Linked DNA regions of Homo sapiens: regions 1, 2, 3, 4, 6 and 7 are each linked to region 5. Evidence: promoter capture Hi-C in 16 types of primary human blood cells and fetal thymus (Javierre and others, 2016). All regions are on one chromosome and are shown on one strand. Each heading gives the region's core, a stretch centred on a gene start or on the middle of the fragment in contact. The rest is flanking DNA. Distances are from core to core; before and after follow the strand shown. Region 1 overlaps PMS1 (PMS1 homolog 1, mismatch repair system component). Region 2 overlaps NEMP2-DT (NEMP2 divergent transcript). Region 3 holds the start of LOC124907946 (a long non-coding RNA gene). Region 4 has its middle 58 kb from the start of GLS. Region 5 holds the start of INPP1 (inositol polyphosphate-1-phosphatase). Region 6 has its middle 23 kb from the start of MSTN. Region 7 overlaps NAB1 (NGFI-A binding protein 1).

Region 1 (3,788 bases), core at 1,045-3,544, 510 kb before region 5:
TGTCTAAAAACACACATTAACTTCTTTTTCTTCTTCCTTTTCTGTGTGAAATTTGAGTAAACTTACTGTTGATTTGCTTCTCATAGAATAGTGTTGACCTTTTCTCGTAGTTGCAGTGACCTATATTTAAGTTAAAGCTTGAGCTGGCTAGTATAAGAAACAAAATTTGCTTTCCATTAGTTATTTAAATATAGTTAATATAAGAAGTAAATTTATGGCCGGGTGCAGTGGCTCACACCTGTAATCCCAGCACTTTGTGAGGCCGAGGCAGGTGGATCATGAGGTCAAGAGACCATCCTGGCCAACATGGTGAAACCCCGTCTCTACTAAAAATACAAAAATTAACTGGGCATGGTGGCACGCGCCTGTAGTCCCAGCTACTCAGGAGGCTGAGGCAGGAGAATTACTTAAACCTGGGAGGCAGAGATTGCAGTGAGCTGAGATCACGCCATTGCACTCCAGCCTGGTGACAGAGTGAGACTGTCTCAAAAACAAAAAAGAAGTAAATTCATTTTCATTTGGGTAATTAAATATTTCATATATACCAACTGATACTTTTTCATTAGGCTTTGCTTATAAACTTTAAATGTTATAATGATATGATTATTTTTAAAAACCTGAACCCCCCCTACTTCCCTGCTGGAAGAAACCATACCTGTAGCAGCACTATGTGGGAGACTTGTCTTGATGGATGAGAATAATTCTTAATTAATCTTTTTTCCTTTATTTGTTATAGGAAGTGCTTTAGATCTTCAAGATTTTTACTTTTGAGGAAAAAATTATAGAACTTTCAGAGACCACCACAATCTTCCTTTCATCCTTAGGAAGAACTTACTTAACTACATATCAATAAAATAGACTCTGGAGCATAGTTTCCAGTTCTGACCTTACATATTGTCACTAACTGGCTTACATTACGTGTCTAGGCTTCAATTTCTTTGTCTCTTTAAAATGGAATAATAGTACCTACCTTACAGAGTAAGGTTTTTAAATGAGAGCATTCACAGCACAGCGCCTGCTCCATAAGTACTCAGTAGAGGTTAATTGCTATTGTTATTGATGTGAATATTGTTTAAAATCTGATTAGAGTCAAAAAGGATTATTAGAGGAAGTGGCCTTAAGACTGGTTCTTCGGAAAGACTATGTGGGCAGAGGTATTCAAAGCAGGGAGAACAGCATGTGCAATGTCAGGGAGTCATCAGAGGTCAGAGAAAGCTTGTCTAAGAAATGAGATGAGGCTACGAAGCTTGCTTGGAGCCAGATTCTGAAGGACCTTGTGTATCTTACATGGGAATGTGTACTTCTTGTTGAAGTGACCAAGAGGGAACTAAATGAGACATTTCAGTAGGAGACTAACAAAATAAGATAATTCTCATTGCAGTTGGAGGATGGACTAAATTATGTTTAATTGTTGTTAAGAATGTGGAAAATGATCTCGTTGTCTGGCAAGTTACACAAGGAATGGAGAAGAGGGTCTAGGCAAGAAAAATATTTCCGATGTAAATAAGATTTGATTACGAATTGGAAATAATCTTTCTTGTTTTTAAAGACTGCAAAGAAATGAGTCTCAACAATATCCCTTTGAAAGTTATGCAGAGATTAACTTTATACCTTTACATTTTTATTAATGTTTTATTCTATTTCATTTTATTTTTAGAGACAGGGTCTCACTCTGTTGCCCAGGCTTGAGTGCAGAGGCATGATCATAGCTCACTTCAGCCTCAAACTCGTGGGCTCAAGTGATCCTCCTACCTCAGCCTTCTGAGTAGCAAGGAACACAGGTGCATGCCACCATAACTGGCTAATTTTTTAATTTTTTGTAGAGACAGGGTCTCACTGTGTTGCCCAGGCTGGTCTTGAACTCCTGCCTCAGCCTCCCAAAGTGCTGGGATTACAGGCCTGAACCAACATGCCCAGCTTATTATTTAATTTTTTAAAAGATCATACCTTTACATGGTTGAAAACCCAAAAATGTATGAAAAGGTAGAATGAAAAAATTATTCTTTTCTTTATCTTTCATCTGCCTAGCTCCTATAAACTGCCCCTTCTTTAGGTAAAATGTCTATTAATTTCTTTGCAACCTTCAGGAAAAATAATTATGCATGTTCTCTTTCAAGAAAAGAATATAAAATTAAATAAGTGTAAGAGATTTTAGAACTCATTTATACTGCATAAATTTTACCAAGACAATCATTTTTGAAAGTTTGAGGCTGCTTAGCAATAATCAATTCATATTAATGTTTATTATGTCAGTAGAATGTGGTTTGTTCTTTTAACAGTAGTATTGATACTGTGATGGAATAATCTATAATTTTATACTGAATTCAAAACATTTAGCAGTGTCTTAGTGGTAAGCTGCTGTGGCTCATATTGTTCCTGTGTTGCCAATGTGGGAAATAAAACAACCTTTTAAATATTGTGTTTGTGCCTCTGTACTTTTTGGAGTCAGAGTCAGTGCAAGTACATACGCAGGAGTAAATAATAATAGATATAGATCTATTTATAGTAACTTGTAAGATCTTAGAAGTAAACTTATGGTACTTAAGAAATTTGCCTGGGTATGGTGGCTCACACCTGTAATCCCAGCACTTTGGGAGCCCAAGGTGGGAGGATCGCTTGAGTCCAGGAGTTCAAGACCAGCCTAAGCAACATGGTGAAACCCTTTCTCTTCAAAACGTACAAAAAAATTAGCTGGGCGTGGTAGTGTGCACCTGTAGTCCCAGCTAATCGGGAGGCTGAGGCAGGAGAATCCTTGAGTCCAGGAGGCTGAGGCTGCTGTCAACTATGATCACACCACTGTACTCTAGCCTGTCTCAAAAAAAAAAAAAAAAAAAAAATTCATTGGTGCTGCTTCTTGTTTGGTGGAAAAAAAAAAATCCAAATATGAGCTTAGTACATCTGTGCCTACAATTTGCAAGAATTTTGGCTGCAGTCTAGGCCAATAATATATCCTCTTTATTTAGAAGGAGTTGACTTTGCTCAAGCAGTTTTAGCATTGTACTATTCACTTAACTATGCATCATCTGTGTGCAGCCTACATTTCTCTTTATCACAAATTGCCTTTACAAACAATTGAGGTTTACTAATTAAATATCGAGTATTCTCATCTAACTTCATTTTCTTCAAGTAGCGTATGTCAGTGAGGTAGGAATTAGGGGCAAGATATATTTGGCTAACTTCAAACCTAAGATGGTGTGCATGTAATAATATATTTTTGAGGTGTTTTTGCACTGTCATCATACTGACTAGAGTCAGATTCTTAGTTGGCACATCCAGGTGCTCCAACTTTGTGTGACCTAGATAGAAAACATATGGAGGTTTGTGTGTATTTTTAGCACATGTTAAGCTTTCGGCCTAAGGGCAAGATTTACAAAAACCTTCAGGAAGTGAAAAGAAAATCTCTGTTTTTGAAAATAACATAGAATTGATGAAACGGTAGAGAAAGCAAACTGAATACTGTATTCTGGATTCCCAGTATTCCCAGTTCTTATTCATCACATTTTATAGTTTAGTTTTTTAGTGATGGGTCCTGTTTTGAAAATGAATCTTAGTTGCCCAATGAGAAGATTTTACTTGTTGGCAGACCGCTATTATTTATTGCTAGCCCAAGTGTAACTAGTTTAGAAAATGCTCTTAAATTAGCCCCTCGATCTGATGCAATAAAAATTGCCTAGTGTGAAATAATGCTCCCAGACTCCTAGCATGTTTACTTTAAAGTGAAATCACATTGCATAGTTCTCATGTTTCACAGCTTTTTCTAGGACCGATTTCCTGAAGTGATCTTTTTA
Region 2 (3,620 bases), core at 996-3,495, 290 kb after region 5:
ATTGTTTTTCCTTTAAAAGTTCTTAGGGAAAAAAAAAAAAAACCTTAACATCTTCCCAGATTGTATTTCCCTCATCTCCATTAGTTACCAGTGTTGACTCTATTCTTTTTATTGCCAATATTCCTGCAGAAAACTTAGAGATGACCTATTTGTCCTTGATTTTTGCTTCCAAAGATGTGCCACCAAAGAATAGGAATTTCTTATAGAATGCATATGCTTTAGGGGCATCTGTCTCTAACTTTACAAAAATAAAATAATAAAGTTATGTGTTTTCTTCACACATTTGAAAGCCAGAAATAGATTCAAACGTACATTTTTCTATCCGTGTGCCAAGCTAATAAGCTGAGCGCAACAGACTGCATCGCGCAGGCCACCGCGGCTCCGCCCTCGCACTGCGCTCTTCCTCCTCCCGCGCCTACCGCGTCCCTCCTCCCACTGGGAACTGGCCGGCCAGCAGCCCCCCGCAGTCCCTCCAGCTGCTCCCCTGGCAGCTGCACACTTGCCTCTGGGTCTGTCGTGCCTCTTTGTGTTCCTGGGCATCATTAAAATAATAGAATCGCAGCGTTTAGAGCCGAGTGACTTTGGACTGGCTCCTCTGACACCACTGAATTTCTGCAGATCATTTACTCCATTTTAGACTCTTAACACTTCACCATCTGGAAGGTCTTGGGGAGGGCACTGGGACCAGCGAAATGTCTGCTGCATCATGTGGGGCACTTTTAGTGACCTCCCCTTGAAGCAGACGTCAATGGGAAGTGTTCTAGGTGCCCACAGAGAGGGGTCTGATGGAGGACGCCTGTTACTGCTTCTTCACCCTCAAAGGAAGGAAACCTTTTAGACTTCTGAGGAGGTAGAACTCAACAGTATACATGCTCTTAACTAGCAATATTTATGGTACACGTTCTTCCTTTATAAAATCAGTTCTGCAATGCCTGCTACTCCAGTCTCTGTTATCTCAGGAACTCTTGAGTGAAGACTATCCCCTGACCTAAGCTGGGCCCATCAGAATCTCTCTGGGGAGTTCGGAACTGGAACAGAAATGCTCATCTCTCTCCTGGTTTCTCCAACAGGAAAGATGTGCATGGGGAGCTGGGGATGGGCAGTGTTTGGGGCTGTGTACCTTGAGGTAGTGAAAACAGATCTGCTGATCCTGCAGGCAGTGAAAGAGAGAGAGAAAGAAAAATAAATCTACAGTGAGAAAAATAGACATGAGAAAAAGCCAGCTTCCCGGCTTCCCAGAAGCTTCCTGGCTCTTGGTTCTAGTCCCCCAGGAGATTGTGCTACTTCCTCGCCTGGCCTGAAGTTAGTTTCTCTTCCATGCAACAAAAATCCTCTCCTCAGATGTTGACTCCATAAGGCTTCTGACCACAAAGCACAATCATAATTCTTTCATTGAGTTTAACTATCCAAAATCTCAAGAATCTCAAACTCAATTAAGAACCCAGAATTAGACAGATGACATATCCAAATAGTGAAAGCTATGTTTTTGGTCCAGAATTGTGCAGAGCGTCAGTCCTAGCTGCGCCTGGCCCTGCTCACTAACTCCTCCTCAAAAAACAATTCATCAGATTTATCTTGCAGCTGCTATATGCTCTGCACCAGGTCAAATGCTGAAGTTTTGGAAGCCATCATGACACAGCCCGATTCCCATGAGCTTTCAATTTAGTAGGGAACTTAGACAAGTAAAACACATTACACAAGCGGTCTTTAAAAAGTTCATTGAAATACGTATTATGAAAAAACTATGCATAGATGTCAAAAATTTTTTGCACCAAAATAAACTTGTACTAACTTGTTATAACATGTCTGAAAAGGATCTAGTTCGAGGCACTAAGATATCAGTTTGTAAGGAGTCCCTTATCAGAGCAACGTGAATTCTGCTAAAATTGAAGCAAGAACAAACATTAAATTTTTGGTGAAGCTTGGTTGGAAGAATGATGAAATCATTAACTTTTAATGAAAAGTTTATTGGGACAATGCCCCCCAAAACTAAGCAGTTTATAAATAGAATAATTCATTTTAAGAAGAGGTGAGACAATGTTAAAGCTGAAGCCTAGAGCAGCAGACCATCCACGTCAATTTGTGAGTTAAAACTCATCTTGTTTGAGCCCTAATTGAAAAGGACCAATGATTAACAGCAGAAACAATAGCCAACACCATAGACATCTCAGTTGGTTCCACTTACACAATTCTGACTGAAAAATTAAAGTTGAGCAAATTCTCCACTTGATGCGTGTCAAAACCGTTGTGCCCAGATCAGCTGCAGACAAAAGGAGAGCTTTTGACGGAAATTTTAAAACAAGTGGGATCAACAATTTCAGAGCATTTCTTCAAAGAACTGTAACAGGAAATAAAACATGGCTTCGCCAGTACAATCCTAAAGACAAAACACAATCACAGCAATAGCTACCAAGAGGGGGATGTGCTTCAGTCAAAGCACAAGCAGACCATCAAGAACCAAGGTCGTGGTGAAGGATTTTTTCGGATGCTCAAGGCACTTTGCTTGTTGACTTTCTGGAGGGCCAAAGAACAGTAACATTTGCTTATTATGAGCATGTTTTGAGAAAGCCAAAGCTTTAGCAGAAAAATGCCCAGGAAAGCTTCACCAAAGAGTTCTCCACCACAACAATGCTCCTGCTCATTCATTCCTCTCATCAGACAAGGGCAATTTTTGTTTTTGTTTTTAAGATGGAGTCTCGCTCTGTTGCCCAGAGCAATCTCGTCTCACTGCAACTTCTGCCTCCTGGGTTCAAGCCATTCTCTTGCCTCAGCCTCCCGAGTAGCTGGGATTACAGGCCAGCACCACCACGCCCAGCTAATTTTTGTATTTTTAGTAGAGACGGGGTTTCACCATGTTGGCCAGGCTAGCCTCAAACTCCTGACCTTGTGATCTGCCCACCTCAGCCTCCCAAAGTGCTGGGATTACACCCTGCCCTGCCAGACAAGGGCAATACTTTGAGTTTTGATGTGAAATGATTAGGCATCCACCTTACAGTCCTGATACGGCTCCTTCTGACTTTTTGTTTCCTAAAAAAATCCTTAAATCTTTTTTTTTCAGTTAATAATGTGAAAAAGACTACATTGACCTGGTTAATTTCATAGAACCCTCAGTTCTTTAGGGATGGACTAAATGGCTATTATCACTTATAAAAATGTCTTGAACCTGTTGGAGTTTATGTTGAGAAATGAAGTTTATATACTTTATTTTTATCTTTTAATTCCGTTTTTTCATGAACCTTTTGAACTAGTAACAGAATTTTCTAATTTAACTTCACTCAGTTTAAATCTCAGTGTTGTTCGAGAAATCATAATATTGGCCAGGTACAGTGGCTCATGTCTGTAGTCGTAGTGCTTTGGGAGGCTGAGGCAGGAGGATTGCTTGAGGCCAGGAGTTTGGGACCAGCCTGGCCAACATAGTGAGACCCTGTTTCTAATTAAAAAAAAAAAAAGATCTGAGTCACACAGCAGAAAAACAAATATAAAAAATGATAATACTACTTTGCAGATTTTATCTGTTTAATATTTCAACAGGCCAAGCGTATCAGCTACAAAAATCTCAAGAATTGTAAAGATATGACCAACTTAAATTATTTGAAGATGTTGTATGAGACTTGCAGAGT
Region 3 (3,801 bases), core at 264-2,763, 420 kb after region 5:
GATCTGGCTATTACCATTTTTACTAGTTCCTAGAAGTGAATGCTCACTTTTGGATGGGCATGTGCTTTCCATTTTATTACAGTCCTCACCACTCATTGTTGTCTCCTTCACACTGAGGCTGAATGACAGCTGCCATTCATCAATGTATGGCTGAGACCATTTTTCTTACAGTTAAGAAGAAAGTGATACCATTTTTATGTGTAAGTCCTTTTCAAAGTTGGAAAAATAAAATATAGACAAAGAGGAACATATATTTTAAGAAAAATGGAAAAAGAGTGTTTTGAGGATGTAAGGGGGAGCAAAGATCATGCCAAAGCATTTAATATATAATATGCAAATGAAGTATGACTGGGTCCATAGAGTGCAATTCAAGGAGTCAGGACCTTGAGTTTGCAATTCTTGCTCTAACCTAATAAAAATAAATAAGTCATATAGTCTACTTACCTCATAATTTGCATGGTACTTCTTTCCCTTTTTAGGGAAAGATTACAGATTTTTTAATCTGTAATTCTCATTATTATGTAAAGCACTTTAGTTTCTTTTCTTCATATTAACTTCTTCCCCCCAACACACATATAGACCCATTCACCTCCCAAATTTTGCCCTTTGGGAATAGAAATACAGAACTCTGTATTTCTCTGCTGTGGTTTGGATGTTTGTACCCCTAAACATCACATTGAAATTTAAGCCCCAATGTTGGAAGGGGGGCAAGGTTTGGGTCACAGGGGTGTATCCCTCATGAATGGCTTGGTGCCTTCTCTTGGTAATGAGTGAGTTCTCGCTCTATTCAAAGAGCCTGGCACCTCCTCAAACCCCCCTTCCTTCTCTGGCCATGGGAGCTCTGCACAAGCTAGACTTCCCTTCTTCCACCAGGAGTCAAAGCCACCTGAAGTTTTCACCAAGAGCAGATGCTGGTGCCATGCTTCTTGTACATCCTGCAGAATCATGTGTCGAATAAACGTCTTTTCTTTATAAATTACCCAGCCTCAGGTACTCCTTTATAGCAATCCAAATGGACCAAGATAGACTCATTGCTAGTTCTATGCTTTATAACTCGAGTCCTTATTTATACAAAGAAAAGCTTTGCAATTCTGGCTCAGAAAAGATTTAATTAAAATCTTAGCTAAGGATCCTCATTCTCTTTACTTTCAATATGGAGAAAAGAAAGAGAAGTATTTATTTTTCCAGTAGCTTTCAGTTGATAATTTTAGGATTTAATAGCTAAATTATAATAGCACAAGTAAAATTTTATGTTGGTAATTTAATTTCTGGGATACCCTTAGCTAATAAATACACTTGGTGATTAGAAAAATGGAACATCAGGCTGGGCGCAGTGGCTCATGCCTGTAATCCCAGCACTTTGGGAGGCCGAGGCGGGCGTATCACCTGAGGTCGGGAGTTCAAGACCAGCCTGGCCAACATGGTGAAACCCCATCTCTACTAAAAATACAAAAATTAGCTGAGCCTGGTGGCACGCACCTGTAATCCCAGCTATTTGGGAAGCTGAGGCAGAATTGCTCAGCTTCTGAGCAATTTGAGAGAGAATTGCTTGAATCTGGGAGGCAGAGGTTGCAGCGAGCTGAGGTCACGTCACTGCACTCCAGCCTGGGTGACAGAGGAAAACTCCATCTCAAAAAAAAAAAAAAAAAAAGAAAAGAAAAAAAAAAAGAAAAATGTAACATCAGGTAGAATTATCCAAGTGTTTTTGTTTTTATTTTTATTTTTATTTTTTTTTAAGGCCAAACACAAATCCATCACAATTCTGGCACTTACTTTAAATGATAGGGTATTGGGCCGTATTTGTCAATCTCTTGTAAAGAAACCAGGGTGTTTTTATATTTACCTGAATATGTCTTTCTACCTCCACCACCTTTTCCATATTCATTCATGTAAATTATAAAAGTAAGGCAGTTACTGAGCCCAATATTCACTGATAACAAAGCAGGAAGCTTATGGGTATGAATCAGAGTGTGGATGACTCATTAAAAGCCAAATGTTTGTACGGAAAGCTCCCCTAAAATGGCACAAAAGCAAATATTTATAAACATGTTAAGAAAGCATTGTGGAACTCTTGGGAGGAGGGGTTAAAATATTGCCACACATTCCTAATTACACTATTACAATAAAACATTGCTTTGCTACCATGAAGTCTGACCCAGGCTCTAAACTCTTTAGCAATGGGGTTGCTCTAATTAGCTATAATAAGACTGATCCTGACTCACAGTGTGTCCGGAATTGGTGGGTTCTTGGTCTCACTGACTTCAAGAATGAAGCCACGGATCCTCGCGGTGAGTGTTACAGTTGGCGCGTCTGGAGTTTGTTCCTTCTGGTGTTCGGATGTGTTCGGAGTTTCTTTCTTCTGGTGGGTTCGTGGTCTCGCTGGCTCAGGAGTGAAGCTGCAGACCTTCGCGGTGAGTGTTACAGCTCTTAAGGCGGTGCGTCTGGAGTTGTTCGTTCCTCCCGGTGGGCTGGTGGCCTCGCTGGCTTCAGGATTGAAGCTGCAGACCTTCCCGGTGAGTGTTACAGCTCATAAAAGCAGTGTGGACTCAAAGAGTGAGCAGTAGCAAGATTTACCACAAAGAGCGAAAGAACAAATCTCCCACAACATGGAAACGGACGCAAGCTGGTTGCCACTACTAGCTCAGGCAGCCTGGTTTTATTCTCTTATCTGGCCCCACCCACTTCCTGCTGATTGGTAGAGCCCAGTGGTCTGTTTTGACAGGGCGCTGATTGGTGCCTTTACAATCCCTGAGCTAGACAGAAAGGTTCTCTAAGTCCACACCAGATTAGCTAGATACAGAGTGTGGACACAAAGGTTCTCCAAGGCCTCACCAGAGTAGCTAGATACAGAGTGTCGATTGGTGCATTCACAAACCCTAAGCTAGACACAGGGTGCTGATTGGTGTTTTTACAAACCTTGAGCTAGATACAGAGTGCTGATTGGTGTATTTACAATCCCTGAGCTAGACATAAAGGTTCTCCACGTCCCCACCAGACTCAGGAGCCCAGATGGCTTCACCTCGTGGATCCCGCACCGGGGCTGCAGATAGATGGAGCTGCCTGCCAGTCCCGCGTTGTTCGCCCGCACTCCTCAGCCCTTGGGTGGTCGATGGGACTGGGCGCCATGGAGCAGGGGGTGGCGCTCGTCAAGGAGGCTCGGGCCGCACAGGAGCCCACGGAGGGGGTCGGAGGCTCAGGCATGGCGGGCTGCAGGTCCCGAGCCCTGCCCCGCGGGAAGGCAGCTAAGGCCCGGTGAGAAATCGAGTGCAGCGCCGGTGGGCCGGCACTGCTGGGGGACCCAGTACACCCTCCGCAGCCGCTGGCCCGGGTGCTAAGCCCCTCATTGCCCGGGGCCGGCAGGGCCGGCCGGGCCGGCCGGCTGCTCCGAGTGCGGGGCCCGCCAAGCCCACGCCCACCCGGAACTCCAGCTGGCCCGCAAGCGCCGCGCGCAGCCCCGGTTCCCGCTCGCGCCTCTCCCTCCACACCTCCCTGCAAGCTGAGGGAGCCGGCTCCGGCCTTGGCCAGCCCAGAACGGAGCTCCCACAGTGCAGCGGTGGGCTGAAGGGCTCCTCAAGTGCCGCCAAAGTGGGAGCCCAGGCAGAGGAGGCGCCGAGAGCGAGCAAGGGCTGTGAGAACTGCCAGCACACTGTCACCTCTCAACAGTACTTCTTATTTTGAGATATCATTCTATTTTGATAACTTCAGCCTCTCTCTATTTTTCCTTTTTTTTTTTTTTTTCCTGAGACGGAGTCTCGCTCTGTTGCCCAGGCTGGAGTGCAGTGGCGCAATCTCGGCTCACTG
Region 4 (3,991 bases), core at 1,267-3,766, 480 kb after region 5:
CTTAAAGATAATCTAAGTAAAATATTTCTGTCATTTTCCCCATTACTTTCAACACCTTATTATTTGAACATTATTCAACAATTTATTCAGTTTTCAAGACAATGGTAACTTTTGTCATTGGACAATGTTATTGTTTAATTTTTACACTTACACATATCTGACACTATTCTACTTGAGGATGGTGTCAATTCACAATTGGAAAAGGTGATTTCTTGGCCATTTGCATCATTCTTTTGGCACTCATCAGATGTGACCGTATTTCATTTTGTGTGAAGTGCGGAGCTTGGGACTCTACGGGGCCTAGTGAGGTCACCAGAGTGATCCATCAGGTCAGCTGGCACCTTTGTCCTCTTTGCCTAGAAATCAGAGTGACTGGCTTCTCTCTGTCTCTCTTTTTTTTTTTTCTAACCTTCCTTCCTCTTTCATTTCAGTCTGCACCAGGCATGGGGATATAGGAATATGAAAAGACAAAACTCCTGCTTTATAATCACTTATTGCAGAGATTCCGATCTGCTCTGAGGATTCAGTTAAAAGAGTTTTGTCTTCCTCCCCACATCCACGTGTCCAAATCCTATCTTACCTTCAGTGCTGTCTCAAATGGGACCATCAGCCAGAAACTTTTCTTTCTCACCTGTGTTCTCCTCCGCTGAACAACCATGGTCACTAGTTGTATTACTCTTCTATCATCGCCTACTATGTGTCATATTTTTTAAAGCTCATTTCCCTGGGCAGACTGTGAGCCGTCTGGGGACAAGATTAATCTTCATATCCTCATATTGCCTACCATATTGATTTCTGCTTAAAGAAATACCTGCTGCTTAAAGAATACCTGCTGAATGATTGAGTTCATTCAGACATTAAACATGGGTGGGTAACATATTCCTTTGGTAGACTATATCTTTAGTGCTGCACCTTGCTGATTCTTAACAGTCTTTGAATGAAAGGCACCAGGTGAAAATGTCTGCTACAATTGGTGTGTAGTAATTTCAATGCAAACAAATATCTAGCACTTTGGATTCACCTTCTGAAATCAGGTCAGTTCTGAAGCTCTGGGCCCCTGAGTAGGGATAGATAACTCAAACCAGGAGTGTTCAGGCTAGTGTTACATGCATTCTGCTAGAAATCAATACTTAGTAGGGAAAGCTTCCCAACACATAATGATGATAATAATGTTCAATTACAAGACATTCCTTAAAGTCACTCACTCCTCACAGAGCTTTATTTTTCTCTGTATTTTGCAGAGAACAATGTTTCAGTTAATAGAACAAATTTAGCATTATGCTTCACCAGTTCTCCTAAAGTATTCTCCAATACTTAAGCTCTTTTCATTAAAGACAAATTTGAACGATATTACCCTGCTGTGGTTAAGGATTTTGCTAAGCCAGGAATGGGAAGTGTATTGTATTCTGTTTCATAGTTTACTCTTTGATGAACAAGACTGAGAAGCTTAGTGTTTAAATTTCCTGGGCTCTGTGCCTTGTTGCCTGGATTCACATCCTGATCCAGTGCCTTTCCAGCTTTATACTCTTCATAATCTAGGTAGCCTTTCTGTCTCAGTGTTCTCATCTTTGTGTAGCTAAAGCTCTTAGAACAGTGCCTTGGGCATAGTAAACATGTGAGTTACAGTTAAGGTATACGAGTAGGACAATAAGAACTTGAATCCCTTCTCTTCAAATTTGAGGAATGCTCAGATGAAACAATCTCATTTTAAGGTAAGTAACTTCTGGTAAGGCCTTTTTCTGACCTATGAACAAGGCTACCTGGCCTAAGGCTTGAAAGCTATTTTAGCCATTGGAAATATTATCACTGGTATCTCTCCTTACTTCCTTTTAACTCTTTATGACACCTCTTTCCAAAGTGCCATGCTTCCTCAGAGTCAAATTTCTATCCAGAAGGAACAGAACTGCAGTGTCATATAACAGATTTGTAAACCTAGGTGACAGATCAGATCACCTCCCTCATCTCCTGTGACTCCCATTCAGAGGTGAAAAGTTAAATTGCAGCTATTCTTTGATCAGAAATGCCCATATGGCTTAAGTGGAATTAGCAGGATCTTTTAATATTCCAACCATTCACTCTATGTATTTGGCATATAAAGAGAAGCAAATTGATGGAGATATTAACTAACTTCTAACTTCTAAAAAGATTAAAAGAAAGAGGTTTAGCCAAGACGGGTTGGACATGGAAGTAATAGATGCCAATTGGGAGGTCTATCTTACCTTTGTAGGCACAAGAGAGAAAAAGGGTCCCTGATTTCTAGGGGTGGCTGTTTTCCAAGGATGTCTGACAGTGTTTCTTTCTTTTTTTTTTTTTTTTTTTTTTTTTTTGAGACGGAGTCTCATTCTGTCACCCAGGCTGGAGTGCAATGGCCTAGTCTCAGCTCACTGCAACCTCTGCCTCCTGGGTTCAAGCGATTCTCCCGCCTTCAACCTCTTGAGTAGCTGAGACTACAGGTGCGTGCCACCACACCCAGCTAATTTTTGTATTTTTAGTAGAGACAGGGTTTCACTATGTTGGCCAGGCTGGTCTCGAACTCCTGACCTCGCGATCCACCTACCTCGGTCTCCCAAAGTGCTGGGATTACAGACGTGAACCACCGTGCCTGGCTGGACCTGACAGTGTTTCTTGACTGTGTGGCATGCTCCTCTAAAATGCCAATTTCCAAGGCCTACCCACCCAACTAGAATTTGAGGGAGTGAGACCTAGTATATCTGTTTCTAAGATGTTCCCTTAGGTGATTCTAACATCCCCCAGTTCTCCTGCTGGCTCATTTATCAGAATGATGACCAGCATACAAAGGTGCTAGTTGCAACAATTTGGAACAAGAGGAGATCATAGAGATTACCTAGGGTGCCTACTTCTATTCACACACAAGATGAAGAGTCTATAGAAGTCAAAGAATTGCCGGGTGCGGTGGCTCATGCCTGTAATCCCAGCACTTTGGGAGGCCAAGGCAGGCAGATCACGAGGTCAGGAGTTCAAGAACAGCCTGACCAACATGGTGAAACCCCATCTCTACTAAAAGTACAAAAAAAATTAGCCGGGCATGGTGGTGTGCACCTGTAATCCCAGCTACTCAGGAGGCTGAGGCAGGAGAATTGCTTGAACCTGGGAGGCGGAGGTTGCAGTGAGCCGAGATTGCGCCACTGCACTCCAGCCTCAGTGACAGAGTGAGACTGTCTCAAAAAAAAAAAAAAAAGTCAAAGAATTGGCCCAGTGTTACTCACATTGGATAATGTTAGCACTTCTCAGGGATGCCAAAAACTAAAAAAATTGCTCATTCACAAAATGTGTTTGAGGTGCAAATTGTTTCTTTTGCCAACATACGTAGCATTTTCAAAAATATCAAGGCAAGGTAATTCCTTGCTATTAATATGGTGTGAGGTAGGAGTCCAATTTCTTTCTTTTGCATTTGGATATCTAGTTGTTTCCATGCCATTTGTTGAAAAGTCTGTTCTTTCCTCCATTGGATTGTCTTGGTATGCTTGTCAAAAATGAATTGACCATGTAAGGGTTTATTTCTGGGCTCTCACTTCTATTCCACTGATCCATATTTCTATCCTTGTGCCACACTGTCTTGATTACTGAAGCTTTGTGGTATGTTTTGAAATCAAGAAGTGTGACTCCTCCAACTTTGTTCTTTTTTTTTTTTTGATGGAGTTTTCGCTCTTGTTGCCCAGCCTGGAGTGCAATGGCGCAATCTTGGCTCACTGCAACCTCCCTCCACCTCATGGGTTCAAGTGATTTTCCTGCCTCAGCCTCCCAAGTAGCTGGGATTACAGGCATGTGCCACCACACCTGGCTAATTTTTGTATTTAGTAGAGATGGGGTTTCACCATGTTGGTCTGGTTGGTCTCGAACTCCTGACCTCAGGTGATCCACCCACCTCAGCCTCCCAAAGTGCTGAAATTACAGGCATGAGCCACCATGCCTGATCCCAACTTTGTTCTTCTTAAGATTGCTTTGGCTATTCTGGGTCTCTTGAATTTCT
Region 5 (3,530 bases), core at 235-2,734:
CATGGTGAAACCTCGTCTCTACTAAAAATACAAAATTAGCTGGGCATAGTGGCAGTCACTTGTAATCCCAGTTACTAGGGAGGCTGAGGTGGGAGAATCGCTTGAACGAAGGAGGCAGAGGTTGCAGTGAGCCAAGATCATGCCACTGCACTCCAGCCTGGGCGACAGAGTGAGACTCTATCTTAAAAATAAAAAAAAAAGAAAAGAAAAGAAAAGAAAAATGGACTAGATTTATATCCCTTGCTCCACCCTGTCTTCCCCAAATTTAAATTCCTGCTTCCTAGAGGCAAATTCTTTCACCTTCTATGTCTCTGGTATTTATCTCCTTACTTTTAAGAATCATGTTTAAATTGTTTCTTGATTTTGCCATCATAGATATGATTATGAGGCTAATTAAACAGTAATCCTAACCGCTCTGAGAATGGACCTAAGAAATGAATGTGAGAAAGAAAGTAGAAGCAGCCCACTTGCTAGTGAGTGAAAGCCAGGGAAGGGTGGGGGGATGCGGGGAGAAATTGTCTCAAGTTGGAGAACCCAGGTGCAGGCTGGGAGCAGTACCATGAATTCCATTCAAGAAGCCAAACGTTTTAAGCACCATTTCCTGGAGTTTGCCAAGTTGAGTATTGACCCAGCCTCCTGTCTTGTTGGTTCCTCACTGCTGAAGAAGACCAAGTGTTGACAACTCAGTGAGGCAGTCTCAGCTGGAGTGGAAAAATGTAGCTAAGAAAACGTGCCAGACAAAGCTTTAAGCAGAGCTTCCCAACTGGATGCCGTGAAACGAATGACAGGGATGCAGATACAGCATGGGTCTTCCCAGCCCTCCAAGTGCAAGGGCTTCTGCAGGAAGCCTTCTGCAGGAGCAGCCTCTTCTGTTTACCCCCATTTTGACCCTTGTAATATCATCCTTTCCTACCTGTGCCAAGAAGTGAAAAGGTGTGTGAAGCGCCGCTTTAGAAGGCCCAGTACATTCACAAACATCAGCTTCTGGGCGAGGCTGCTTGGCCTCTTCTATTCAAAACTTTGTGTTGCCCTTTTAAGGTTTCTATTCCCCCCACCCCCACCCCGCCCACCAACACCCATTCCTACCTAGGTTCAACCCAAACCATCCTTAAGGTACACTGAGTATCACAGCACCAAAGGCTGGAGAGAGATAAGTTCCCCACCCTTGATGCGCTTCCTGTCCAGGTGGCCCGAGGCCCACTCCTTAAGAGGCAAGGCCCAGAGACACTGCTGTGTCTTGAGGAACATCCAGTACACCTGACATTTCCATTAGAACAGTGGGACCCGGATACCACTGGCAGGAAGTCCATCTTCACAGCTGCCAACCCATCTGTCAAACCCGCAGTCCCCTATGAGAGTACAGATGAATGGAGGAGGAAGATTTAAAAGTGAATTCGTGGGCGGCGACAAGGAAACAGCAGCCGTGGCCAAGCTGACCCCAGAGCCCTTCCCTTCCTGGCCCTCCCTCTGAATCATCGCGCTCCACTTGTGACGTCGCGGACGCCCGGCTCGGGCAGGCGTGGGGGGCCCGCGCGTCCCGGGAGCCCCGAGGCGGCAGCGCGCGTTTCCACGCCGCGGTCCCGCGGGAAAGCCGGGGGCGGCGGCCTGGCTGAGGCCAAGCTCGGATCCGGTGCCGAGCCAAGCGGGGCCGTGCGTCGCCGGGGCTTCGCCTTCGCTCGCGTGACCTCCGCCGTCCTCCCCAACCCTCGTCCTCTGGCCGCGCCTGCGGCCGCACGCCCAGCGCCCCTCGCCTAACCTCGCGCCCGGGCCGCGCCTCCTCCTCCTCCTGCTCCCCGCCGCTTCCGTTTCTCGAGGGAAAGGCTGCTGCCTCCTGCTCTGTCCTCATCCCCGGCTTAGGTAACACGTTTTCCTCCTTACGACACCCACCACAGGGTCCCCGCGCCGCTGCCCCTCCTCCTTGGATCTGGGGCCCGGGCTGGTGAGCGGCGCGCGCCGTCGCCTCTCCGCGGGTAGGTGAGTCGATGGCGCCGGGAGGGTTCCTCGCCTCTGCGCGCCGGCCTGCGAGGTCCCTGCCCCGGCAGCGAGGCCGCCCCCGGCCGGGCCCGGCCAGGCATGCCCGGCATCGCCGCTGCAGCCAGCGCGGAGGGGAGCTCGTGAGTCCCGCGGCGCCCTTGGCCCTGCCCGAGCGGCCCGATGGGGTTGGGGGGCGGGAAGAAAGGGTGGCAAACAACGATTTTAAAAATCCAGTCATTAGTATTTGTAGGACGAAGAAGCTGATCTGACAGTTGTCCAGAGCAGTGGCCCAGCTGCAACAGGTAGATGGCGCAGCTGTCAGTGACCCCTTGGTCTCAGCCTTGGCTTTGAGAGATGCATCTGAGTGTCCCTAGCTGCCAGCTACCTCCAGTGACCTACTTGATGAGTGTGAAATAAATATGATGGGACTATATTTAGAAAAATCTTTACTTCCTTGCTGTTAATTCTCTCTGCATTTTGAAAGGTGGTTTTGTGAGGTGTGCATAATTAGTTGGTGTGTCCAGAGTGGTAGCTGGAAAAAAATATTTAACCTGGGTTTGGCCCTATCATGTAGACGGTTAGGCGCAAAGAGTGTGAAAGGAAACGCTTACTTTAGTACATCTGTGAAAAACACTTATAAGAAACCACGGCTTGTTTTTTGGAGATTTCTCATTTTAAAGGTATTTTTAAAGTGTTGAATAAGCAGAAGTTTGCCCACTGTATGATGGTGTTCACTTCAAAAGAACAGTGGGTTAAAAGTATGGACAGACCACTTAAGTGGATCCCATCTGTTGAGTAAAAGATTTTTTAGCCCTTTTACACTGATTCCTAGCTTTGAAGCCAGAAAAGTTGATAAGGATCAGCCCTGCTCAACTTGATAATAGTATAAGGATGAAAGTAATCCACTGAACTACTCTTGATTGGTGAATTAGCTAAGTGATCTCATTCTTACCTTTTAAAATAGAGAACATAAGGGAAAAAATAAAGGCAATGGAAGAATTCATTTTTTCAATACAGATATTTGTTTCCATTCTTATGTAGAGCCTACTTTATTTTTAAGTTTTTATGGATTTTTATACTACTTTTGAAGTCAGCTTAGTCATGAAGAGAATTATGTCAAATACATAGAGTTACACTGTACTTTTTGTGTAGAATAAGCTACCACTTTTCAAGCTTTTGGACTAAACCACCGCTTGCTTGGAAATTGCAGCTTTGACTAATGCCCTTTAAAATGATATACCTTATTATAGATTTAAATTATAGCTTTCCTTGTTATAGTCCTGAAAAAAATGAAAAGATAATTTCTTGTTTGACATAGAAGGCCTGTGAGACAAAAGTTATAAAGGTTATTATATATTTATTTTGCTTTTTAATTCTGTCTCTAATAACAGTTAGAAAATGTCTCATTCTATTTCATGTTATACAGAAATTGCTTAAAAGATAATTATGTTATATAAAGTGATCAATGAAAACAAACGTCATCTTCATTTTTTAAAGGTGAGGATGGTGTATATAAGCACTTTTTCCCGATGTGAGTCCTTATGAATGTTCTTGTT
Region 6 (3,879 bases), core at 266-2,765, 260 kb before region 5:
AATTTTAAAAATCTACTCTCTTGTCAACCTAAAGGAAGAAGCTGAGGCACTAAATATAATTTTAATGAGTTTACTTGAGCCAAGATGAGGACAGCTGCCCAGAAGACTCAGACCTGATAACCTTGTATAAGAGTTCCATTTGACCTTTGTGAAAAGTAGGTTTTTATAGGCAAAAAAGGAAGACGGTGGGCTGATACAAAGTTGTTTTTCAGGAATTCCCATTGGTTTACAGAAATGACATTGATTAGTGATTAGCTATACATTGTTGAACTCTAGGGCGTGAGTTATGGTGTCCATCATGCAACATTGTTAGGTTAACTTACAGCTATTTGCAGCGACAGTCAGTCTAGAGTCCACATAGCAAGAAGCTTCAAGAGGTGATGAGCTCAAGCAGGGAAAGTGGGATGTCACTGCTGCCTTACTCCCATGCCTCTTTGGGCCTGATAATTTAGAGGAGGCTTACATTCCTCAGAGAAGGTTTCTTTTCTTTCTCACTCTTAAAACAATTAAGTACCTTGCTTGTTGAAGTCACACAGCGAGCAAGTTACGGATCTTGACTTCAAGCCTAGGTTTGAGACTCCGAAGCCTATTTTCTTTATAATATATTATACCAGAGCTTCTGAACCTTGGGCATACATTAGAGTCAAATGGTTAAATTTGCACAAAGCCCTACCCCCAGAGAGTCTAATTTAATTGGTCTGGAGTAGAGCTCAGGTTTTTTTTTTTTTTTTTTCTGAGACAGAGTCTGGCTCTGTTGCCCAGGCTAGAGTGCAGTGGCATGGTCTCTGCTCACTGCAACCTCTGCCTCCTGGGCTCAAGGAATTCTTCTGCCTCAGCCTCCCACGTACCTGGGATTACAGGCGCCCACCACCATGCCTGGCTAATTTTTGTACTTTTAGTAGAGACAGGGTTTTACCATGTTGGCCAGGCTGGTTTCGAATTCCTCACCTCAAGTGATCCACCCACCTCAGCCTCCCAAAGTGCTGGGATTACAGGCATGAGCCACCTTGCCCAGCTAGAGCTCAGTTAATTTTAAAGCTTCTGGGTGATTTTAATGTGTTGGCTGGTTTGAGACCACTGATGGGAAGTATAGTTTATCTATCATGATAAATTGGTGGAAAATGCCCCTTATTGACTATTTTTTTGAGGCTGTATTATATAACTCTTTAATGTATTCACGTAGTCAAAAAACACAATAAAATTCCTTTAATCAGATTACAGTCTACAGACTAAACAACTGAGATTCAGTCATTTAATTAACTGACATCCCTTCTTCTAACCCACTTGTCGACTATTTTTAAGGTGATTGTATTTTCCCAGAAAGTACTGAAAAACATACAGGAAGGGACACGGGAGTACGATAACCTAACTTTCAACCTTGGCTTTGATATTTTCTTGCTAAATGGACTTTGACAAGTTACTTAACATTCTGTAAAATATTGATTATGAAAGAAGTAAAAGGTATTCTTGAAAAGGGTTTTATCTGGGGACAGATGGAGGGAATGCTGCCTCTGGTGGCCTCCTGTTGGGGTCAGATGCATATAGTGCATTGAAAAGGCCATGGGAAAACTTTTCTAGTTTTCCTAGTCAGCCTGGCTGTAAAGCCCATCTTCTACTTTCTGCCCCTGCTGCCAACCATTTCCCAAACCACCCTTCTCTTTACACCTAGTCAGGGGTGATTCCTTCATTGCCAGACCACATGGCATTATTGGGAAGTGGCCAGGAGAGGAGGACTCCCTTTTAACCATAGATGCCAGGGTAGGGAATATGTGCTTGAGGGGAGGGAAAGGAAATGGATATTTTCAATCTCATATTAGATTAGACATGAAATATATTTTACCATAGGAACAATCTCTGGATGGTAATTAGGTTTCCTGGTTATTCAATTAAAGCCTATTCATAATTTTGCCAGATATTTACAATATTTTATATGCAAATAACAGTGTATTTCAGTAACATTTTGGGTTCAATAGGCCTTGAAGAATTAGTGTGAAAGCTTAACTGTCATTTTTAACACCGCTTCTGTGAGAAATACGAGATCAGTACTTAGCACTCCAAGAAATAGTTTCTCTCGTCTCTAATTCAGCTTAACAAATATAGCGTTCACTGATCATCTAGTGAAGAGGGAATGAGGCAGCTGAAAGAATCCCATTTCCTCTCTGAAGTTTAGCAGAACTCTTTTAGCTACTGATTATAAGATCACAACGTACTTGAGGCCATGGGCCATTTCTTTCCTTCATTTGTGTTCCCCTTCCCCCTGAACAACTTATCACATAGTATGAGCACGTTGTAGATGTTAATGTATACATAGATTAGATTTGAAATTGGTAATGACCTCACTGTCAATGGAAAATAGGACACTGATCATCCATACCATACAGTGACAAAACATTTCTTAAATGATCAGCTTTTGTTGCTGGTAACCAGGTGCCTCTCAGCAGCAAGGCTTAAGAGATGAAGTAACTGGTGCAATAAAATATTATAGTGGAAATTATGAGCACGAAGGCCATGGGAAAGGTTCTGCTTGCACTAGAAACTACCTAAAAGACTGTCTTGTTTCTTGTACCAGTGGGGCTGAAATAGCCAAAAAACAAACCTAAATTTGCTTCTACAGCTTTCAGCATTACAGTGCAGCCTTTCTAGGCATAGGTTAGTAGAGTGGGATCCTGTGAATGGAAATATTTGGGTAGGTTCTAATGAATCCAACTACAAATCCTTCACTTGTGTTTCCCTTCCTCCAAAGAAATCTATCACATAGTATAAGCACATTGCGGATGTTAACATACACATAGATTAGACTTGAAATCAGTAATGGCCTCACTATCAATGGAAAATAGGATACTGATAATTTGTACAATGTAATGACAAAACATTCCTTAAAATATCACCAATTGTTGCCTGAATTAACAAACTCCACTGAGTCTTAGTTGTTAGTAGGAGCAGTCCTCCTCTTCCATCTGATAACCTGTAATAATTTCACCTGAGGTGGTTTATTTGCAGGAAGATGACGAATCTCCTAAATGTTAATTCTCACTACTTATCACTTCCAGACCCTGACCTATTCCATAATTAGGTTCAAATCCTCAAAGACCTCAAGGAAGATGGGGAAAGAGAAACATTAGAAAATATGCACGATGGTTGCAGTCTACACAATTTATGAGGCCATAGTAGGTATTTGTAACTCCCTCTTCCACTTCCCTTCCCATGCTCCCTTTGCTCAGTTATCATTTTAGCTAGGTGTTATTATTTATCAGTCAGAGTGACCTGAACCTTCATTCCTGAAATATCTGAACCATTGTGGTTCTTGCTTGGCTTGGTTTGCTCTAATCTTGTAAATTTTACCATGGATATGGAAGGAATTGCTCAGATATGGATATGAAAGGAGTTGCTCAGAGAATGTCTTGCCTTTGAGACATGGTCTTCCCTCTGTTTTGTAGTACCACCACTTTTCCCACTTTATGATTAGGATTAATTGTCCCAGCGAATACAGTAATCCCTTTCTTTCCTTGTTGGTTCAGTGCCTTGAAGACCTCAAAGTGGCTGATGTGGCAGTCTCAGCTTCCATTCAAAGGAACCCTTCTAGTGTTTCCTGGAAAAAGTATTCCTTCCATGGAAACTAAGAGCACAACATTGTGAGGTTGGAAACAAAAGTTATGTGAGTAGGTCATTAGGAATAATAATGGAACCACCAATACTTTTACACTTTCATTTTCAGATCTAAGTATTCTGGCTATGGAAGAAATAGCATTATATATTAGTTGCTGGCTTGGGAAATATACAATAACTTGTGGGACAGCAACCTAGTCTTACAAGTGGCAACATAAGTTGTCAATAGATTATTCTACCATTTAATCAAGTCAGATTTTTCCAACAGACATG
Region 7 (3,990 bases), core at 1,455-3,954, 310 kb after region 5:
GATTATAAATCCCTTTGAGTGTATGGATCATTAATGAGATAGATATTTGATGATAACTTACACCGTGTTTAATTTATAGGAACAGAGAAGAAAAAGACCTAGGATCTCATGACTGAACTTGAATTCTTAAAAGGCAGGTGTTGGGGCCGGACTCGTTGCATGATGTATAACACTAACCACTTGTAGTTCCTGTATTGGCAGGAACTTTTGCTTTCTTGGGAGAATAGCCATGTTATAGGAGTGCACCGTATAGCTTTTTAAGAAAGAAGAAGTATTAAGGATGAGAGAATGAAAAGGATTGTAGGTAAAGTAACAGGATGCCCTGTTATTGGATTGGCAATTCATTGAGATACTGGTTTACACAGAAGGCCTCCCCTTTGGAATATGAAAGGTTGCTGATCAGATTCTGACTCAGACATTGGGTTTCATTGCACAGCAACCTTTCCAGAGATGTTATTCATCATTGAAACTTTGCTAGGAATAAATGGGGATAAAAGAGTAATGAAACCTAATTCCTACCCTTGGGGTGCTTATAACCTAACAGTGACTTGTTCTGCAGAGCCAGGCAGGTTGCCTTCCTTGTGCCATGACTCCTTCACAGCTGCACAGCATTTACCACATTGTTTAAGTCTCTGCTTCTTGTCTCTCCTTGCTCTTAACTGACTCTCCATGAAGGACTGTCTTTCCTCTGTTCCCCAGAACTGGCTTAGTTGTTGGTGTTATTTGAATAAGTTCAAAATGTAAGAGAGACAAAGTGTTGCGGGGTTCAGAGAAGGGAGATGACAGCTGCAGCCAGGGGTAGTGGGAAAGACATTTTGGGAAAGGCTGTGAAGGTTGGAGGGAGAGAGGATGCCTGGCACAGGGGCAGGGAAGTGGAAGGCATATTTGAGGAATGCCTAGTGTATCTGCTTGGCACAAGTATATGGGCATGTTAAGGAACAGAGAGAAGGCTGGAAAGATAGGCTTGGGTCTGGGATGCCTATATGAGTAGTTTGGATTTCTTTCTCTGCACTGGTGGAGAAGTTCGCAAATCTGTAAACTTGGCATTGCAGTGTGGGATCTATTGAAGGTGAAGGAGCTTTTTTCAAAATTGGGGCAAGAAGCAATGAACACTAGAATTTGGTGCTTTTGAGGCAGAGAAAGAAGTGGTGGTGTAGCCTAAGGACATGTAGATTTGAGGAAGAAAGAAGAAAAAGCAAAAATGGAATCCAAACTTACTTAAATCCGGGAAACTGAAAGACCAATGGTGCAACTGAAAGAACTAAGAGAGTTGGAAAGAGTAGACTTGGGAATCTGGAAGAAGGGCAGAAAATGAGAGAATGTACTTGATTTTGGACACATCAAATTTGAGGTTTTGACAATGCCCAGGTGGAATGCCAAATTACAGTTCAGAAGAACAGTTTGGGCTGATGGTTCTGAACTTTTCAGGTGTGAGGATAGCTTTTTAAATAAAAACTTGCAAATATTTATGACTACTTTTAGTATTTGTTTTTTGAGAATACATGTAAAGACAAAACAAAAATTCAGCTATACTGTTAAGTGAGTTTTACTGAATAACAGAAGTGTCTATTTACCTTCATTTGCAAAGTAGACGTGTGTGAGAGGCATCTTTTTCACTCAGCAGTTGGTGCTTTGTGTGTATTTGGATTTGAGAACACTTGGAGTGACTCCATGGCTCTTGTCCAAGCTACAAATACAGATTTGGAGGTCATCTGCCTATAGTGATAATTAAAGCCTGGGAATGGGTGAGATCATCAAAAGAAAATTATGGACACACAATAGAAAAGAGATGTAATATAAAAATTTGGAGAATTCTTAGAATATAATAGGTGAAAGAAGGAAAAACAAATAATATAGCATTACCAAAGTAAGGTGAAGAGCATCTCAAGGAGTGATACCATGCAGCAGACAGATTAATGAGAGAGAGGCCCAGAGTTTTGATAGAATGGTGAGCCCAGAAAACAAGCTGGCCTGAGTCAGGTTTGAAGGAATGGTTCTTCTTTTCTCTAGTGACAATTAAAGCCCTCTGTCCTATCAAAAAATCCTCACATCCCAGCTTGGAGACTGTCAGGGAAATTTTGTTTTCCATAGCGAAACAGGAGTTGACCGGTAGTTTTGTGGGCCAGACTAGCTCCCTGCTTCACTTAGCACAGTTGGAATCTGGCAGGTGACTGATGCTACCCTGTAAGGAGCCAAAGTGAATTTTAAAAAAAGTTTTGGAACAAATGATTACCGTTTAAAAGATCAGTGAATAACAACAACAAATGGTCTTAAATTAATGCATTGTTTAATTCCTCTTCCCCTAACATCATTGGGATTCTTTTTATAGGACTGAGCAGGGGGAGGAACATTTAAGCTGATGGAAGTGGAAGTGGAAGTTGCTGTACATTGGCAGCAAGGCCTCCGAGTTAGCTTTTGAATGCAGTTAACTGGTTTCTCTTAACTGTGGAATTCATTGAAAAGTCAGACTCCGAGTGGTCGTTCCAGGATATCTTGAAAAGCCCAGGTAACAGTAGTTTTCAGCTGAGTGGATTTACAATACTCTAAGCTACCTGTATATAACGTGTTAAGGACCCATTTTATATTTACTTCAGATTGGAGAGAGGCAGGTAGAAGCTTTCTTTTGACTTATTTGACCTTCATGTTGAATCATTAATGGTTATAGATTTTATGAAAACAGAAAATCTTGTAAAAGTTTTCTTTCAAATCACATCAAGTTCATGTATGAAGGGGTGGGTGTTTAAATTATCACAGCCGGCTTTGGAAGGAAACTGAAACATTCTCTTAAAGCAAAAGCTTAGGAGGAGAACTCCTTTTCCAGTAGTAAGTGTGGGCCTCTAGAAAGCCTCCAGGGACCGAATTGGTTACTTAGTTATGTTGCATCTGTTATCTTGGCTTTGCAAATGTAGACTTGGTCCTATCAGTCTTTATGGAGATATTATATTCATAACTACTTTCTTACCCATGCAGAGGGCTTTCTCTTAAGAACTAGGGGGTTTCATTTTTTTTTTAAGTGGGTAAAGATGAGAAAGGATAAAACTTGAAAATTATTTTCTAAAATCATTGCCTTATCTCAGAAGAATAAAATATAAGCTTGAGTCTTTTAGTTCTTAAGTTTCTCTTTTGTATTTGTCTAACATATATTTTTTCTTATTGCTCATAAAAAGATTTAAAAGTATTTTTCCAGATTTCCTCATGTAATCTCTGCTCTATTCCATAATGTGAGGAGCACATATGCTGAGTTAATTGATCACCCTGTAAACCTTGCAAAGTTACAGTCCTCTTATTAAAAAAAGATAGTGTGTGTACTACTGAGAAGCCCCATGTCTTGGAGCTTCTGTGTCTTCCACAGTCTATTTTGATCATGTGTATGTATATACACATTACACATGTACTTTTTTTTTCTGTATTGCGTTGAAAGCCTATGGAGGAATTGCACGAGGTGTATGATAGGAAAGTAAATGTCCTTTCTTCCACCTCCAACACTTTATAGCAGCCCTTCTATTTGGTATAGTGTAGTTTAATATAGCTCTAAACTTGGGTCTGTAACTCCTGAGAGCTCTGTTTTTGTGAGTTAGTGCCCAGGTGGATGATAGATTCTCCCTGGAGTGGGAGGACAGGCAGAGCCTCCTTTAGGTGATTTAGAAGATGCAAGAACGTTTTTATCCAGAGGACTGAGGTGGCATGAATGTGAAGGTTGACCTAAAGAATTACCTGGGTCATCACAGTACCTGTAGGAGTTTGTGGTGCCCGGAGGATTTATTAAGTAGGAATCTTGTGCAGTGTGTCATATTTGCCTAATCATGGAAGTCTCCTGAGATGCATCTCAGGCACCTGGGAAACTGTATTTTTCAAAAGCACCCCAGGTGATTTCCTGGGTTTTAGTAGAAGCTACTGGGCCCTAATTCAGCCTTTGTTGTCTTTTGGGAAGTCATCAGGTAACCTGGTTATGCCCATACTAGCCCTTGCAAAGAAAGAGACATAAAATTT

The links. Contacts are between HindIII fragments. The CHiCAGO score rates a contact against its expected background, and 5 or more counts as called.
Region 1: a fragment that was not itself captured here is called in contact with the fragment with the promoter of INPP1 in region 5 in 1 of 17 cell types (M2 macrophages); the score reaches 6.3 in M2 macrophages.
Region 2: a contact is called between a fragment that was not itself captured here and the fragment with the promoter of INPP1 in region 5, in 1 of 17 cell types (megakaryocytes). The highest score is 5.2, in megakaryocytes.
Region 3: a contact is called between a fragment that was not itself captured here and the fragment with the promoter of INPP1 in region 5, in 1 of 17 cell types (endothelial precursors). The highest score is 5.2, in endothelial precursors.
Region 4: a contact is called between a fragment that was not itself captured here and the fragment with the promoter of INPP1 in region 5, in 1 of 17 cell types (activated CD4 T cells). The highest score is 5.6, in activated CD4 T cells.
Region 6: a fragment that was not itself captured here is called in contact with the fragment with the promoter of INPP1 in region 5 in 5 of 17 cell types (megakaryocytes, naive B cells, total B cells and 2 more); the score reaches 6.2 in megakaryocytes.
Region 7: a fragment that was not itself captured here is called in contact with the fragment with the promoter of INPP1 in region 5 in 3 of 17 cell types (M0 macrophages, megakaryocytes and total B cells); the score reaches 5.7 in M0 macrophages.

Annotation. Positions count from the first base shown.
Region 1 is chr2:189,833,092-189,836,879 of GRCh38, forward strand. The region is part of intron 5 of PMS1 (PMS1 homolog 1, mismatch repair system component); the gene reads left to right. Among named protein-coding and RNA genes, the nearest start is that of PMS1, 51 kb to the left of the region's middle. The HindIII fragment of the contact is 2,100 bases long and covers 1,245-3,344 here.
Region 2 is chr2:190,627,566-190,631,185 of GRCh38, forward strand. All of the region lies in intron 4 of NEMP2-DT (NEMP2 divergent transcript), which reads left to right. It also overlaps a transcript of NEMP2 not described here. Among named protein-coding and RNA genes, the nearest start is that of NAB1, 20 kb to the right of the region's middle. The HindIII fragment of the contact is 653 bases long and covers 1,920-2,572 here.
Region 3 is chr2:190,757,870-190,761,670 of GRCh38, forward strand. LOC124907946 (a long non-coding RNA gene) reads right to left here and starts at 2,632. Exons shown (of 2, transcript XR_007087780.1): 1 at 2,223-2,632. RefSeq lists an enhancer at 1,940-3,139. The HindIII fragment of the contact is 868 bases long and covers 1,080-1,947 here.
Region 4 is chr2:190,820,810-190,824,800 of GRCh38, forward strand. No RefSeq gene overlaps it. Among named protein-coding and RNA genes, the nearest start is that of GLS, 58 kb to the right of the region's middle. The HindIII fragment of the contact is 2,144 bases long and covers 1,445-3,588 here.
Region 5 is chr2:190,342,105-190,345,634 of GRCh38, forward strand. INPP1 (inositol polyphosphate-1-phosphatase) reads left to right here and starts at 1,485. Exons shown (of 7, transcript NM_001128928.2): 1 at 1,485-1,857. LOC124906109 (serine/arginine repetitive matrix protein 1) reads right to left here and starts at 2,945. Exons shown (of 1, transcript XM_047446773.1): 1 at 1-2,945. The coding sequence starts at 2,212. The coding sequence ends at 1,334. RefSeq lists silencers at 1,471-1,780, 1,851-2,180. The HindIII fragment of the contact is 2,404 bases long and covers 742-3,145 here.
Region 6 is chr2:190,083,376-190,087,254 of GRCh38, forward strand. It overlaps a transcript of AKAP19 not described here. Among named protein-coding and RNA genes, the nearest start is that of MSTN, 23 kb to the left of the region's middle. The HindIII fragment of the contact is 958 bases long and covers 1,037-1,994 here.
Region 7 is chr2:190,653,648-190,657,637 of GRCh38, forward strand. NAB1 (NGFI-A binding protein 1) reads left to right here. Exons shown (of 10, transcript NM_005966.4): 3 at 2,330-2,506. Among named protein-coding and RNA genes, the nearest start is that of NAB1, 6.6 kb to the left of the region's middle. The HindIII fragment of the contact is 180 bases long and covers 2,615-2,794 here.